Linked DNA regions of Homo sapiens: region 1 is linked to region 2. The links are contacts of gene promoters, found by promoter capture Hi-C in human tissues and cell types (Jung and others, 2019). All regions are on one chromosome and are shown on one strand. The core of a region is centred on a gene start or on the middle of the fragment in contact, and the rest is flanking DNA. Distances in the headings are between cores, read along the strand shown. Region 1 has its middle 31 kb from the start of ZNF280B. Region 2 holds the start of GNAZ (G protein subunit alpha z).

Region 1 (7,140 bases), core at 2,945-5,444, 590 kb before region 2:
GGAGAATCGCTTGAACCCGGGAGGTAGAGGTTGCAGTGAGCTGAGATCACACCATTGCACTCCAGCCTGGGAAACAGGGCGAGACTCCATCTCAAAAAAAAAAGAAAAAAAAAACATTAGTCGGGGTGGCGGCGGGCGCCTGTAATCCCAGCTACTCAGAAGGCTGAGGCTGGAGAATCACTGAACCCAGGAGGCAGAGGTTGCAGTGAGCTGAGATTGCACCACTGCACTCCAACCTGGGCAACAGAGGGAGACTCCGTCTAAAAAACTAAAATAAAATAAGATACTCTAAAGTAAATTATTTAAATAATTCTCATCTTAAGCAAGCAGTTTATTCAGCATGAGGTTCAAAGTAAATAACTTCAAATCAGATGGTCATGAATATAACTTCTTTAGTCATTCAAAACACTCAGATAAACAAGACGGATAACACTGAAATGAAATACAGACAATGCAGTGGATTTTCAACAATAACTACAAAAAGGACTGAACAAAGAGACAAACAATGAATGTGGGCTTGCCTAGGAAATACAGTAGAAATGTCAAAAAAAGTTAAATGAATGAGAGGGGTACTACAATCCTCCACCCCAGGAAACCACAGCAAGGTGCCGTGGATCCTCTCTGAAGCCTGACGTTCAGGTTGTTCATATTTTAGGTACCCTGGACACTTGCTCATAGGCCCTGCAAGAGGTTACAGCAGCTGTTCCCTCCCACAGGGCAAAGCCAGATCTCACAGCCACCTAGGCCTCCCCATGACAGGGAGTTGCTCCCTGGGACAAAGACCAGAATAGGAGGAGGAGGGAGAGATAAAAGGCTCAGATTTGCATAATGTGTCCCACAAATACCTAACCTTTATGCAAGAGGTGAGGAGGGCATAAAAGAGCCATTAGAGAGTCCAACACTAGCTGTGAGGCCAGTGGGCCCTTGGAACTTCAGCACCGTGGTCTAGACTCCTCTCCTCCTCCTCACTCAGTCACTGCCCAGGTTCACAGAGATTTCAGATCAGCCTTTAGAATGATTCTTCTGCCTTCTTTTGGGAGAAAGTGGGTCTAGGAAAAATAGAATGCAAATATTTTTCCAATCCATAGGGAACAATAAGAGGTATACTAGATGAAGAGTTTATGGTCAAATATTTTTTCAAAAAAAAAATCTCTCTATGATGTAATTCTGACTGATAATAGCAAAGAAAACAAGCTCCTTATTTTATATAAAAAATTTTTCTTTTTTTTTTTTTTTTTGAGATGGAGTCTTGCTCTGTCACCTAGGCTGGAGTGCAATGGCACGATCTTGGCTCACTGCAACCTCCACCTCCTGGGTTCAAGTGATTCTCCTGCCTCAACCTCCTAGGGATTACAACCTCCTAGTAGCTGGGATTACAGGCAGCCGCCACAACGCCCGGCTAATTTTTGTATTTTTAGTAGAGACAGGGTTTCACCATGTTGGTCAGGCTGGTCTCAAACTCCTGACCTCGTGATCCGCCCGCCTCGGCCTCCCAAAGTGCTGGGATTACAGGCATGAGCCAACGCGCCTGGCCTAAAAAATTTTTCAAAACAATGCAAGTTTACTACATAAAATCTGGCTTTTTTTTTTTTTTTTTTTTTTTTTAATGATGTGGTCCTGCTCTGTCATTCAGGCTGGAGTGCAGTGGCACAATCACTGCTTATTGCAGGCTTGACCTCCCAGGTTCAAGCTATCCTCCCCTACCTCAATCTCCCAAGTGGCTGGGAACATAGGTGTGTACCACCACACTTGGCTAATTTATTTATTTTCTGTACAGCCTGGATCCCCCTGTGTTGCCCAGGCTGGTCTTGAACTTCTGGGCTCAAGCTATCCTTCCTCCTCAGCCTCCTAAAATTCCGGAATTACAGGCGTGAGCCACCATGCCCGACCTAGAAGTATTTGTTTCAAGGAGCATATTTAACTACGCCGTAAAGACCAAATAGTTCAGAAGTTAGATGTTACAATTTTAGTCTCTTCTCCTACTTCTTCTTTTTTTTTTTTTTTTTTTTTTTTGAGACAGAGTCTCACTCTGTCACCCAGGCTGGAGTGCAGTGGTGCAATCTTGGCTCACTGCAATCTCTGCCTCCTGGGGGGGTCAAGCAATTCTCCTGCCTCAGCCTCCCGAGCAGCTGGGAGTACGGGCATCTGCCACCACGCCGGCTAATTTTTGTATTTTTAGTAGAGACGGTGTTTCTCCACGTTGGCCAGGCTGGTCTGGAACTCCTGAGCTCAAGTGATTTGCCCCGCCTCGGCCTCCCAAAGTGCTGGGATTACAGGTGTGAACCGCCGCGCCTGGCTGTTCTTTCACATATTTTCTCCATAGTTCAGATCACAATGTATACAAATTTTTTTCCTGCTAGTTTTCTTTCACATTACTGCAATCTATCTCTTTTAAAAAAAGTATATAGTGCAGCTATTTCAGCCAGGCACGGTGGTTCATGCCTGTAATCCCAGCACTTTGGGAGGCAGAGGCGGCTGACCACTTGGGGCCAATGAGTTTGAGACCAGCCTGGGCAATGTGGTGAAACCCCATCTCTACTAAAATTACAAAAAAATAATTAGCCGGGCGTGGGGGCCCGCGGCTGTAATCCCAGCTCCTCAGGAGGCTGAGGCAGGAGAATCTCTTGACCGCAGGAGGCGGAGGTTGCCGTGAGCCGAAATAGTGCCACTGCACTCCAGCCTGGGCGACAGAGTGAGTGAGGCTCCGCCTCAAAAAAAAACCAAACCAAAACAACAATAACGAAAAACAACAAAAAAAGTAGATTGTGCAGCTATTAAATGAAAAGTACAAAACTGTTCAGTTTCCAGGCATTTAAAATTATTTCTGGCCAGGCCTGGTGGCTCATGCCTGTAATCCCAGCACTTTGGGAGGCCGAGGTGGGCACATCACCTGAGATCAGGAGTTTGAGACTAGCCTGACCAACATGGAGATACCCTGTCTCTAACTAAAAAAAAAAAAAAAAATTATTTCTACTTTACATTTACATTAGTACAACCAAAGTATTGATGAATTATCTTACATACTCAATTTTGGATATATACATAAACATTCATTCTGTAAATTTTTATTGGATATGTTAAAAGCATCCCATGAGGCCAGCAGTGGCTCACGCCTGTAATCCCAGCATTTTGGGAGGCCAAGGCAGGTGGATCACCTGAAGTCAGGAGTTTGAGACCAGCCCGGCCTACATGGTGAAACCCTGTCTCTACTAAAAATACAAAAAATTAGCCGGGCATGGTGGCAGGTGCCTGTAGTCCCAGCTACTTGGGAGGCTGAGGCAGGAGAACTGCTTGACCCCTGGAGGCAGAGGTTGCAGTGAGCCGAGATTGCGCCATTGAACTCCAGCCTGGGCAGCAGAGTGAGACTTTGTCTCAAAAAAAAAAAAAAAAGCATCCTATGAAAAAAATGAAATTATTACCTTTTTATTCATATATTGAAATAACTTCCAAAAAGGCTTATGCCAATTGAAACTCCTTTTAATACATCCTCACTGACAGTAAACATTACAATTTATATAATATTCATCAGTACGCTACCATTGCTTTAATTCCCATTTTTGTTTTTGCTATGGAGACTAAATATTTTGCATTTATTTACCAATCAGCTATATTTATTCTTTGTGAAATGGACAGGGATTTTTTTCTTTACAACAATTTTATAATAGTGCATTAGAGATTTGTCTTAGTAATCTTTTTTTTTTTGAGATGGAGTCTGGCCCTGTCACCCAGGCTGGAGTGCAATGGTGCGATCTCAGCTCACTGCAACCTCCACCTGCTGGGTTCAAATAATTCTCCTGCCTCAGCCTCCCAAGTAGCTGGGATTACAGGTGCCCACCACCATCATGCCCAGCTAATTTTTGTATTTTTAGTAGAGATGGGGTTTCACCACATTGGCCAGGCTGGTCTCGAACTCCTGACCTTGTGATCTGCCCACCTTGGCCTCCCAAAGTGTTGGAATTACAGGCGTGAGCCAACACACCCGGCCCCCGATTTTTCTTAGTAATCTTTGGAAACACTTCAGAAATATTTTTAATTAGCCCTTTCATAATCTCAGGCTATAATTTTCCTGTTTATATGCCATAAAATGTGAACATGTTACACCGTCAAATAAAAAAAGCAAGGTGCAGAAGACTGTGCATAATATAAATCAGTTATTTAAAAAAAAGAAAAGAAAAAATAAGAAACTATCTGAAAGGCTAAAAAAAGAATCTGAGTTGTTACTTTTTCGATGTTTGAAGAATGTGAATATATTATATACTCAACATTTTAAAATAAATGAACTTTAAAAAGAATCCTCTCAAAATGGTGTCAGCCACAATGGCACACCAGAGAGTGGGAAGGCAACACAATGACCATTAACTCAGTTTTAGCTGCCTTCCTTGTATCATAAAAACTTCTAATGTTCCATTTTCCCTGTGGTAACTTCCAAGATGGCCTCCAGTGATTCCCCACCCTCTGGTATTCCTATCTGTATATGGTCCATTCCCACATAGCATCAGGGTTGCTCTGGGTGACCAAGAGTATACAACAGAGTGAAGTTATTTTACCTCCAAGGCTATTATAAAAAACATTGCAATGCCTTCCTTGTTCTCTTTTGGATCACTCATTCTGTAGGAAGCCAGCTGACATGTCATGAGGACCATATGACAAGGAACAGAGGGAGGCCTCCTGCCAATACCCAAGTGAGTTTGAAAGCCCTAGTCAAGCCTTTCACATGATATGGCCCCAGTCAACATCTTAACTGCAACCTCATGAAAGAAGCTGAGACAGCACCACTCAGTTAAGTGACCCCAAATTCCTGACCCTCGGAAACCATGAGATAACAAATAGTGGTGGTTTTAGTTGATAAGTTTGCAGTAATATATTATACAGCAATAGGTAACTAATACAGATTTTAGTACCTGGAAGGGAGGTGCTGGTGTAATACCTAAAATGTAGGAGTGGCTTTGAAACTGGGCAGTGGGCAGAAGCTAAAAAATCTTCAAGGAGATTGTCAGTGCAAGCCTTAGTAGAAAACTGGACTCTGAGAAGGCTCTGGTGTAGCTTAAAATGAAGTGAGGAACATGTTATTAGAAAATTGAGCAAGGGGTTACGTAGTTACGTAGTGGCAGAAAGTTTAGTGACTATCACCTAGTCAGGTGAAAGTAGAAAATGTACCTGAGTCATCTAATTGAGATTTCCAGCCAGAATGCTGAAAGTGCTGATTGGTTTCTTCTTGCTACTTATAGTAAAATCTGAGGGGACAGAAACAAGCTAAGGGAAGAAGTGTTAAACAAAAAAGAGCCAAGAGCCAGTACCTGCTGGTTTTGAAAATTCCCAGTCTTTCCAGATGGCAAAAGATGCTAAAATTAACTGCTCCCAAGCAAAGGTTATATCCAGGGCACTAAAGAAAGGTGCAGAAATATGAAAGATGAGGGTAAAAATCCTTTTTACTTTTTCTTTGAGACAGAGTTTCACCCAGGCTGGAGTGTAACGGCTTGATCTCAGCTCACGGCAACCTCTGCCTCCCAGGTTCAAGTGATTCTCCTGCCTCGGCCTCCCGAGTAGCTGGAGTTACAGGTGCAGGCCACCATGCCCAGCAAATTTTTTTTTTTTTTTTTTTTTTTTTTTTTTAGTAGAGACGGAGTTTCACCATGTTGGCCAGGCTGGTCTTGAACTCCTGACCTCAGGTGATCCACCAGCCTTGGATTACAAGTGTGAGCCACTGCACCCAGTCAGAGGGTAAAATCCTTTAAGGCTCTGAAAGATCAAAAATGATGCTTCAGAGTACAGTAGTCCCCTTTATCTGTGGTTTTACTTTCCATGGTTTCAGTTACCCACAGTCAATTGTGGTCCAAAAATATTAAACGGAAAATTCCAGAAATAAACAATTCATAGGTTTTAGTTTATTTATTTATTTATTTAATGACAGGGTCTTGCTCTGTCCTTCAGGCTGGAGTGCAGTGGCGTGATCTCGGTTCACTGCAACCTCTGCTCCTCGGCCTCAAGCAATCCTCCTACCTCAGTGTATTGAGTAGCTGGGATTACAAGTGCCCACCACCACACCCAACTAACTTTTGTATTTAAGTAGAGATGGGGTTTCACTATGTTGGCCAGGCTGTTCTCAAACTCCTGACCTCAAATGATCTATCTGCCTCAGCCTCCCAAAGTGCTGGGATTAGAGGCGTGAGCCACCACACTCAGCCAACAATTCTTAGGTTTTAAATTGCATGCCATTCTGGTTAGTGTGATGAAATCTAGTGCAGTGGCTCTGAGTTCCATTCAGGACATAAATCATCCCATTGACCAGCATCTCTATGCTGTGTATGCTATGCTCTTGTGGTGTTATAATATACATTGGTTTTGTCCACAGTTCATAACTCCCACAGCCCTTGTTACAGTCTTTTGTTATAATGTTCGGTGTTAGGCCTCAGAGGTAGGCTTCTGACCTTCTGCCATCCTTTTACCTGCCCCAAGGCAGGACTCTAATCTTTCTGATTGTGGGTTCTAAGACCCTCCCAAGAGAGAATCCTGCCCTATACTCTAGCGGGAGAGAATGCTTAAGTCATGAAGCTTCCATAAAAACCCAAGAAGACTGGGTTCAGGGAGCTTCCAGTTAGCTGAACAACACTTGGAGGTTCTTGGAGGTTGGCGCACTCAGGGAAGCCATGGAAGCTCCATACCTCTTTCCACACACCTTGCCCTGTGTGTCTCTTCATCTGTATCTTTTGTAATATCCTTTATAATAAACCTGTAAACGTGTTTCCTCAAGTTCTGTGAGCTATTGTGGCAAATTAATGAAATCCAAAGAGGGGGTTGTGAGAACCCCAACTTGAAGTCAGTCAGTCAGAAGTTCAGTATACCCAGACTTGGGAGTGGTGTCTGGGGGTATGGGGGGAAGTCTGGAGGACCGAGACCCTAACCTGTAGGATCTGACACTAAACTGTTCCAGGATTCCTGACACTCAGAGACTATGTGAGTTAATGTTTAAGCTGTTAGTTTTGTGGTAACCTGTTATGCAGCAACAGATAACACATTCCCTTCCCTGTTTGCAAAGCACACAATCCCACCCATCAAAAAACATGGAAAAATGGTACTAAGGTTTCGATGTGTATGTTTATACACACCCATGCACACATCCCTCAGACAGCTTTTCTGTCA
Region 2 (6,951 bases), core at 3,109-5,608:
GAGCAAAGACCTGGGGGTAAGGAAGTTGTTAATTTTCAAATCAGGGCTAGATTGTAGCCTCGTCTCACCTATCTGAGCTTCCCAGGAAATCCCTGGGACAGGTGTCATTGCTGAGTCAGGATGGGCACAAGTTAGGGGAGGAATATAGAAGGAGTTGAGGTCAGAAAAGTCAACATTCAAGGTGATCACCTCCATTACCCACCTCTCCTTGGTGAGGAAACTGAGGCCCAGAGAGGCAACTTGAATACCTAAGGTCACACAGCAGATGGTGGCAAAGCCAGGCGGGACCCTCAGCCCCTTGGGTTTTGTTTCTCAGGCATTTGTCTTGTACTTCTGCTCCTAGAAATGCTTAGCACAGGGACCGGGGTTCATTTTGAGACAGAGGGAGAAGATTAAAAATAAAACGCGTGCCGGGTGTGCCTTTCTGCTCGTTCACTTTGCTTCTTTTCAGCTAAAAGAAGAGTCTCGGGCCTGGCTATTTATAACTAACCCAGATCTGCGATGGCTTGCTCAAGTGGGGGTGGGGCACACAGACCCCAGGGAAACAATCGGGGAAATCCACCCAACTGGGCGGCAGCCTGAGCGTCCGCTGGGGGTGGGGGGTGGTTGCAGAAGAGGTAGGACAGGTGGGGCACAGAGAATCAGCCAGATGGGGTGGCACCAGAGCAGGCCAGGCTCTGGGCCATCCATGGTTTAGAGACAAGCAACATATGCCCACCCCACCCCCGGGAAGTGGGAAAACTAGTGGAATAGTCAGCTGGGGACAGGTCACTACAGAACAGGTTGACATGTGTGTAGACCAGGAATTCCAGGGTCCTAGGGGCTCTGGAGGTGCACAAAGGGAGGCCCCGGGGAAGCTGGTTCTCATGGATGTGGAGGAGAGCCCAGAACAGCAGGGCTCAAATGTATGTGTTTGTGGGGAGTCCCCGATCTGGCCTGGCTGATATGTAGGGGCTAGGATGGGTTCAGTGGTTGATGAGCCAAAGAGATCCAATGGGATTGAGGGGTCACGGATGTCCATGGTGTGGAGCCCCAGTGGTGGAGTCTGGGTCATTTTCTTTGTGGTGGGGCAGGGCGGGTGCTGACACCATGTTGAGGGGCCACTCCTCAGCCAGCTGTGCCTGCTGGGTTGGGGAGGTGCTGAGTGGGCTCAGTCACCACCATGGCCCCCTTCCTCTGGCTACAGCAAAGCCCCAGCTGTTGTCTCCCAGCCAATGAGGGCTCAGGACAGAGCACCAGCACCCAGGTTCTGGTCGCAGCCACACCCTTTCCTGTTAGGGGACTGCACATCCACACATGGCATCTGGGGCCCACCTTGCCGCAGGTGACCCACCTGTCCAGCTTTAGCCTTGCATGGCCCTGTGCCCTGAACTCCTGGCCCACTGGGCCTGCCTTTGCTCCAAGGGGTGCTTCTCTGTCCTCAGCTTTCTCGGCTTCCAGGTAGCTGGGAGCATGGTTAACAGCTTCTTCCTTTACCACATGCTCTCTTCCCGTGCCTCTGGTACCCTCCATTCTCTGGTTCCTGACCACCTCCCCAACTGCTCCTCCATCTTTTTGGTAAGCACCATCTCTTCCTCCAGTGGTCCCCACCCTCTCCCCTTCTCTCATCTCCCTGGGTCCTGATAATGCCCCGCCACTGTCTCCTAACATGCTCTTGGTCTCCCTGCCATCTCACAGCCACAGCAGACCGTACACTGAACTCAGCCTCACAGACTGACTTCTGTGCTCACTCCCACTTCCTCTGGACTGACTAACTGATGTTTTTGTTATTTTATTATGTCCAGTAGGACAACTCACATTGTCTGTGGGACCACGCCTACTGTAAACAGGCAATTAAAAACTTCTCCTCCTCCTTCTCAAATTTAAAAGACTAATGTTAAAACTCTCGAGCAGTTCTTAGGCCAACGTCCCTGATCCTACTGCCCCAAGCTGGCATCTGTGCATGGGCAACGACCCTGGCCCCAGCCACACTGGTCTTCTCTGGGTTCTTCCTGGCCTCGTGCTCCTTCATGTCCTGCACCGTCCCCGCCTTGGAACTCACTTCCCTCCCACCCTATGTCACTGGCCACCTCCACGCCTGCTATGGCCTCATTCCAAGCATCTCTTCCTTTGGGAAGCTGGCCCAATGCCCAATGCTCCCCCACTCCACATGCCCCCAGAGCCCCAGTGGGTCTCCTCAGATAGCCTCACATGACTGTAAGGCCCAATCGTTGTTTGCTTTCTGCCCCTGCCCTACAGGCAGAGGGTCTGCCAGAAAAGGGCCGGTCTGAATCCTAGAACTGTGCCTACAACTATACCCTGGTGGAGGAGGCTATCTGTAAGTGACTGCTGCATGAATACAATATTGGTTTGATGCCAGGTGAGATGTCCCTCTCTTACTTTGAGGTCAAGTCAGGGAGGTGTCAGCCAGCCCCAGTGGACCCCTCCGCAGGCTAGCCTCTGCTCTGGACCACTGGAAAGGGCCATCTCACTGTTGCATGTGGGCTTACCTCTGCAAACAATTCAACTCTGACCCCCAGACTCTGCAGTGGAAACAGCCTCTGGCTATCCCAAGACATGCTAATATGCATTTCCTATAAACATTAACCCTCAGAGCCACCCTCTGACCACAGTCTGTTACATTCCCTTTTGACAGAAGAGGAAACAGAGGCTCAGCCAGGTAGCACAGCTGCCGGTCTCTGTGTGGTCCTCCTGGCAAGAGGTCCAGCCTGACACAGCCTGGTGGTGTGGAAGGCAAGCACAAAGGGTAGCTAGCCCCTCAGCCATTGGCTGAATTCCCTTGGTCCTCACTGGACACCTCCAGTGAGCACTAAGTTCGCCTCCATGATGCCCATAACAAATATACGTCCTGTTCCTGACAGTTGAGGCAGCACCCTCACAGGTGGCCCATGACCCTGCAGGTACGTAACGCAATGGTCTCCATCTCACAGAAGAGGAAACATTCCTAGGGAGGTTATGGGATGATGCTGAGATGCCACAGTGTCCAGCTGGCAAAGCCAGGCACATGCCCCTGCCCCTCCACCACAGAGCTATGATGGAGAGACCGCTCCATGGACCTCTGCCATGGTCAGGTCCAGGGCTGCTGCTCAAAGAATGGCATGATCCACACCTTACAAAGGTGTGAGGTGATAAGGAACGCGTTAGCTGGGAAGGCATTTGCACTTTGTCAGGGATGCTCTAGGATACACAAAGCTTCAGATTTACAAAGATGGAGAAGAGAGACAGGAGCATTCATGTCTTGGCCCTCTGGCTTGAGAGTCTTTTAAGCATGGAACTGAGGGACTCCTGGCCCTGAGGTCCACAGATAGGCTTTGAAATTGAAAACAGAATTTTGCAGCCTGGGTTCAGCTGCGTTTTGCTGAGGGTCTGATGCTTTCCACCAGCTTCCCAAAAGCGCCAATCAGTGGCCTTAACTGAACTGGCTCTCTCACGCTTGTCTGGGCTGGGGGCCAGCTCCTCGGTCCTTCTCCCTTCCTTCCCTCCCAAGGCCACCCTTCCGTGTGCCAGGATTGCCAGGGACGCCAAAGAGCCCCTAGACACTGGGCGGTGGCGGCGGGGGGCGGCGGCAGAGATGACTAATGCTCCCTCCCATCGCTGCACAAACCTCACCGGTGTAAATCGTTAGGGTTTGCATAGGCCTTTCACACGTTCTGAAGGATTGGTGAGACAATCCAGGAAAGCAGGTGCCACTAGCCCCACTTTGCAAACAGAAAGGCTGAGAGAGGTCAGTCGGTTGCCCAAGGACGTAGAGCTCACAAGAGGCCGAACTGGGTTTGAACCCGAGTGGAGAGAAGGCGAGCCGGGACTGGCTGCAGTAAAGAGGGCCAGGACCATGGCTGGGCTCAGGCTTGGTTTCCCGGGCTGCCAGAGGTGGCCCCTGGGGCTCGGCTACCAGGCCTCAGCGCAGCGGAGTCGGTGGAACGCCGGCGCGGGGAGCTCTTGCGGGACTGCGGCGCGCGCGGAGCTGCGACCCCGCCCCTGTCCGTCCCCATTGGGCTACTGGCCCGTCCGTCAGCTGCCTGTGCCCAATGGACAGAGGGCCGGCGCTCGTGGCGGGGCGGAGGTGCCCGGCGCGTGGTGCCCGGCGGGCGCGCGGCACCCCCCCGCCCGCGGTTGGCCTGGCAACGGGCTGCGCTCGCGGCTCCGCCCCCTGCCGGCGGCGGCGCGGCGCGGGGCGGGCGGACCCGCGGACTGGCGGCGGGCGGCGGGCGGCGGGCGGCGCGGGAGGGCGGGCGGAGGGAACCAGGCCGGCCGGAGCGTGTGCGCCGCCCGCGGTCCGGTCACGTCCCCGCGTGGGCGCCGCTGCCCGCGTCGTACGGAACGAGGGCGCCGCGGCCCCGTGCTCGCCGCCCCGCCCCGCCCCGCCCTGCCCGGAGCAGCTCGGCAGATGCTCTGTGCTGCGGCCCGGAGGTGAGTGAGCCGACCCGCGGCCGGCCGCGCGCCGCTGAGCCTCAGGGGTCGGGGGCACGGCCGGGGCATCCACCTTGCCCCCACTTGGGACTCTTCCCAGGCCTTTGTGCCCCGGATCCGCCAGGACGCAGCGTCAGGGATGCCCCTCAGGGGTGGGGGACACCAAGGGCGGGGACGCCTGCGAGGTGGGCAGGGGGCGGCCTCTGGTCGGGCAGGTGCTGGGGGAGGGATGCGCCGCCAAGCCGATGACCCCGCGGGAGGGGGCGGTTGAGGACCCGGGAGGGTGGACAGAGGGCGCCGGGGATGCCGCGCGGGGCCGCCGGGCGCCCCCAAGCAGCGGCTGATGCGGAGCCCGGGCGGGCCAGGCGAGCTGCGGGAGCGGCGCTGAGGCGGGTCTCCCTAGGGGGAGGATCAGGGAGGGGCGGCCGGAGCCGATGCAGGGCCTTGCCTGAAACCGAGGAGAGGGCCCCAGAGGCCTGGGCCCGAGGACCTGGGCCCGCAGACGGACAGCTAGCAGTTCTCGGTCACTGCTCTTGCAGCGAGCAGGTTCCTCACAGGCATTTAGAGGAAGAGATGAGTATCGACCTGCTGCGATTGTAATACGTTCCCGGCTCAATATTTTTTCCCTTAAAAGGCGGTGGGGGTGTTTGGGGGAGGGGAGTGAGGGCCTCAGGGCTGGCGCTCCGTATCCTGCGGGCGATCCGAGGGGGCTCTGCCTTTAGGGCGGTGCTGAGCCTTCCTGGGTGATGATGGCAGGATTCGGCCTAGGCCGAGAATGGGGGCTCCTGTTAACTGAGACAAGAGGATGATGCCAAGCGAGACCAGCGTTCCGCGTAGTCCGTGTTGGGGTGGAGGGACCCGCCTGGTAGAGAGGTCTGTCTTGCTTGGGGAGACAGCTGAGCCCCTGACCGGCTCCTTTCTGCCCAAGTGATTTCCCTGCCCTGGGGATTGAGCTCTCTGGAGAAGGCTCCTTGGCCAAATTCAATTAAGCAAATATTTATTGAGTGGTCACTCCCCCAGAGCTTGACGCTGGGGTGCACCGGGTGGGAGTGGACTGGGCCTGCCCTCCCAGGACTGATTGACCACCGCATAGGGGAAAACGTCTCTACTCGACCAACCCCGCTTGAGTGCAGGTGCAGGGGCCTCGGGAGGGACCTCAGAGTGGTGTCCTGGGCTGGGGGGTCAGGTGAGCTCGTGGGCAACATGACATTTGAACTGGAGCTTGAAGGACATGGGCACAGCTAAGCTGGGCATTGTGGGCAGAGAGGAGAGAATAGACCGAGGCACTTGGGCAGTTAGGTCTGATGGGAGCACTTAGCATGCCTGGGGAGTAGGAGGAGGTATGGCGGGAAAGGCCGGTGGGGGCTGCACGGGGCTGAGGGAGCTGGGAAGTGGAATGACCCCACTGCTGGTTAACTGTGGCTATGGTGGAGACCACGGCTTCCTCATCTGTAAAAGCGAAGCAGTTCCATGACCCCATGAGCTGGGGTGGGCCTGGAGAAGAGCTAGCTTTAAAGACTGGGGAAGGCTCCTTGCAGTCTGAGACTGTGCTTCCAGGCACTTCTCCCTCGGGCACAGCCAGGGCACTGGGTAACCACCCAGGCAACCCCCTTGTTAGGATTGAGTTGCCTGTTTCGGGGATGATGCTTAGCTAGTGACTCTGTGCCTCTGGGATGTGGATGTTTGAGAGCAGTAATCGTGGCAGCCTGGGAGCATCCATCTACGGGGTGCAGTGGGGGTGTGGATGGCCTGGCGGTGCTTGGATAAAATATGCGCCTTGAGCAAGCCTCATTCTCTAGGAATGAGGAGATGCTGGCATCTGGTTTAAAAGTCTTCCTGTGTGTTCCTCTAACTGACGTTGATTTTCTGAGACAGGAGGTGAATAAGACATAATTTCTCCCCCTCGGAAATTGGTGTCACTTTCCCCCCTAAGTCAGCTCCCTCATTTCTGGGGATGTTTTTGCTCTCCCTCTGAAGGGGCTGTTTGTTACTCATCTTTGTAGTGTGCCTACCCTCCCCACCCAACACACACTTGGCTTTGGCCAAGGCCCAGGTTGATGCAGCGAGAACAGGGCCTGCCCTCGTGGGGTGTGCAGTCTGTGCTGAGCAGGGTGAGCTGCTGTGCTCTGTGCCTGTCGCCTGGACTGTTGCAGGGACCTGGCATGTGACTGTGGGTTTGGGACACAGGGAATGGATTCTTCCCTCTGTCCCCAGCCTCTCAGTCCTTTTGTTTTCTAGAATCTCAGGAGGAACCTCAGAGACCTGGAGGCCCCACCAGAGTGGCCAGAACCTGGTGCAGGAGTATGGGTGGGGTCTCAGTCTGGCCCTCAGGAGCTTCTAGAACAATTCCAGGAATTTGCAGGTAACTGGATTGACTTCACAAGGGCTGCCCAGGGCCCCCGCAGAGAGGCCAGTGGGACAGGAATGCTGAATATAGCAATTCAGGAATGCTGAATTTAGTCATCTTGTGTGTGAACACATGTGTGCGGCTTCCTCCCCTGGAGGCAAGGAAGGCAGCCCTGTGCTGTCTGTCCCACGCTA

The links. The method cuts DNA at HindIII sites, captures the fragments that hold promoters and counts their contacts. A contact is called where the count stands out against the background at its distance.
Region 1: a contact is called between a fragment that was not itself captured here and the fragment with the promoter of GNAZ in region 2, in 1 of the 25 tissues and cell types used here (dorsolateral prefrontal cortex).

The regions. Positions count from the first base shown.
Region 1 is chr22:22,474,123-22,481,262 of GRCh38, forward strand. It overlaps IGL. Among named protein-coding and RNA genes, the nearest start is that of ZNF280B, 31 kb to the right of the region's middle. The HindIII fragment of the contact is 9,727 bases long and covers 1-7,140 here.
Region 2 is chr22:23,066,161-23,073,111 of GRCh38, forward strand. It overlaps GNAZ (G protein subunit alpha z), which reads left to right and starts at 4,359. Exons shown (of 3, transcript NM_002073.4): 1 at 4,359-4,410. All of the region lies in intron 4 of RSPH14 (radial spoke head 14 homolog), which reads right to left. RefSeq lists silencers at 1-206, 4,034-4,173, 4,314-4,453 and enhancers at 5,060-5,940, 5,941-6,822. The HindIII fragment of the contact is 23,611 bases long and covers 1-6,951 here.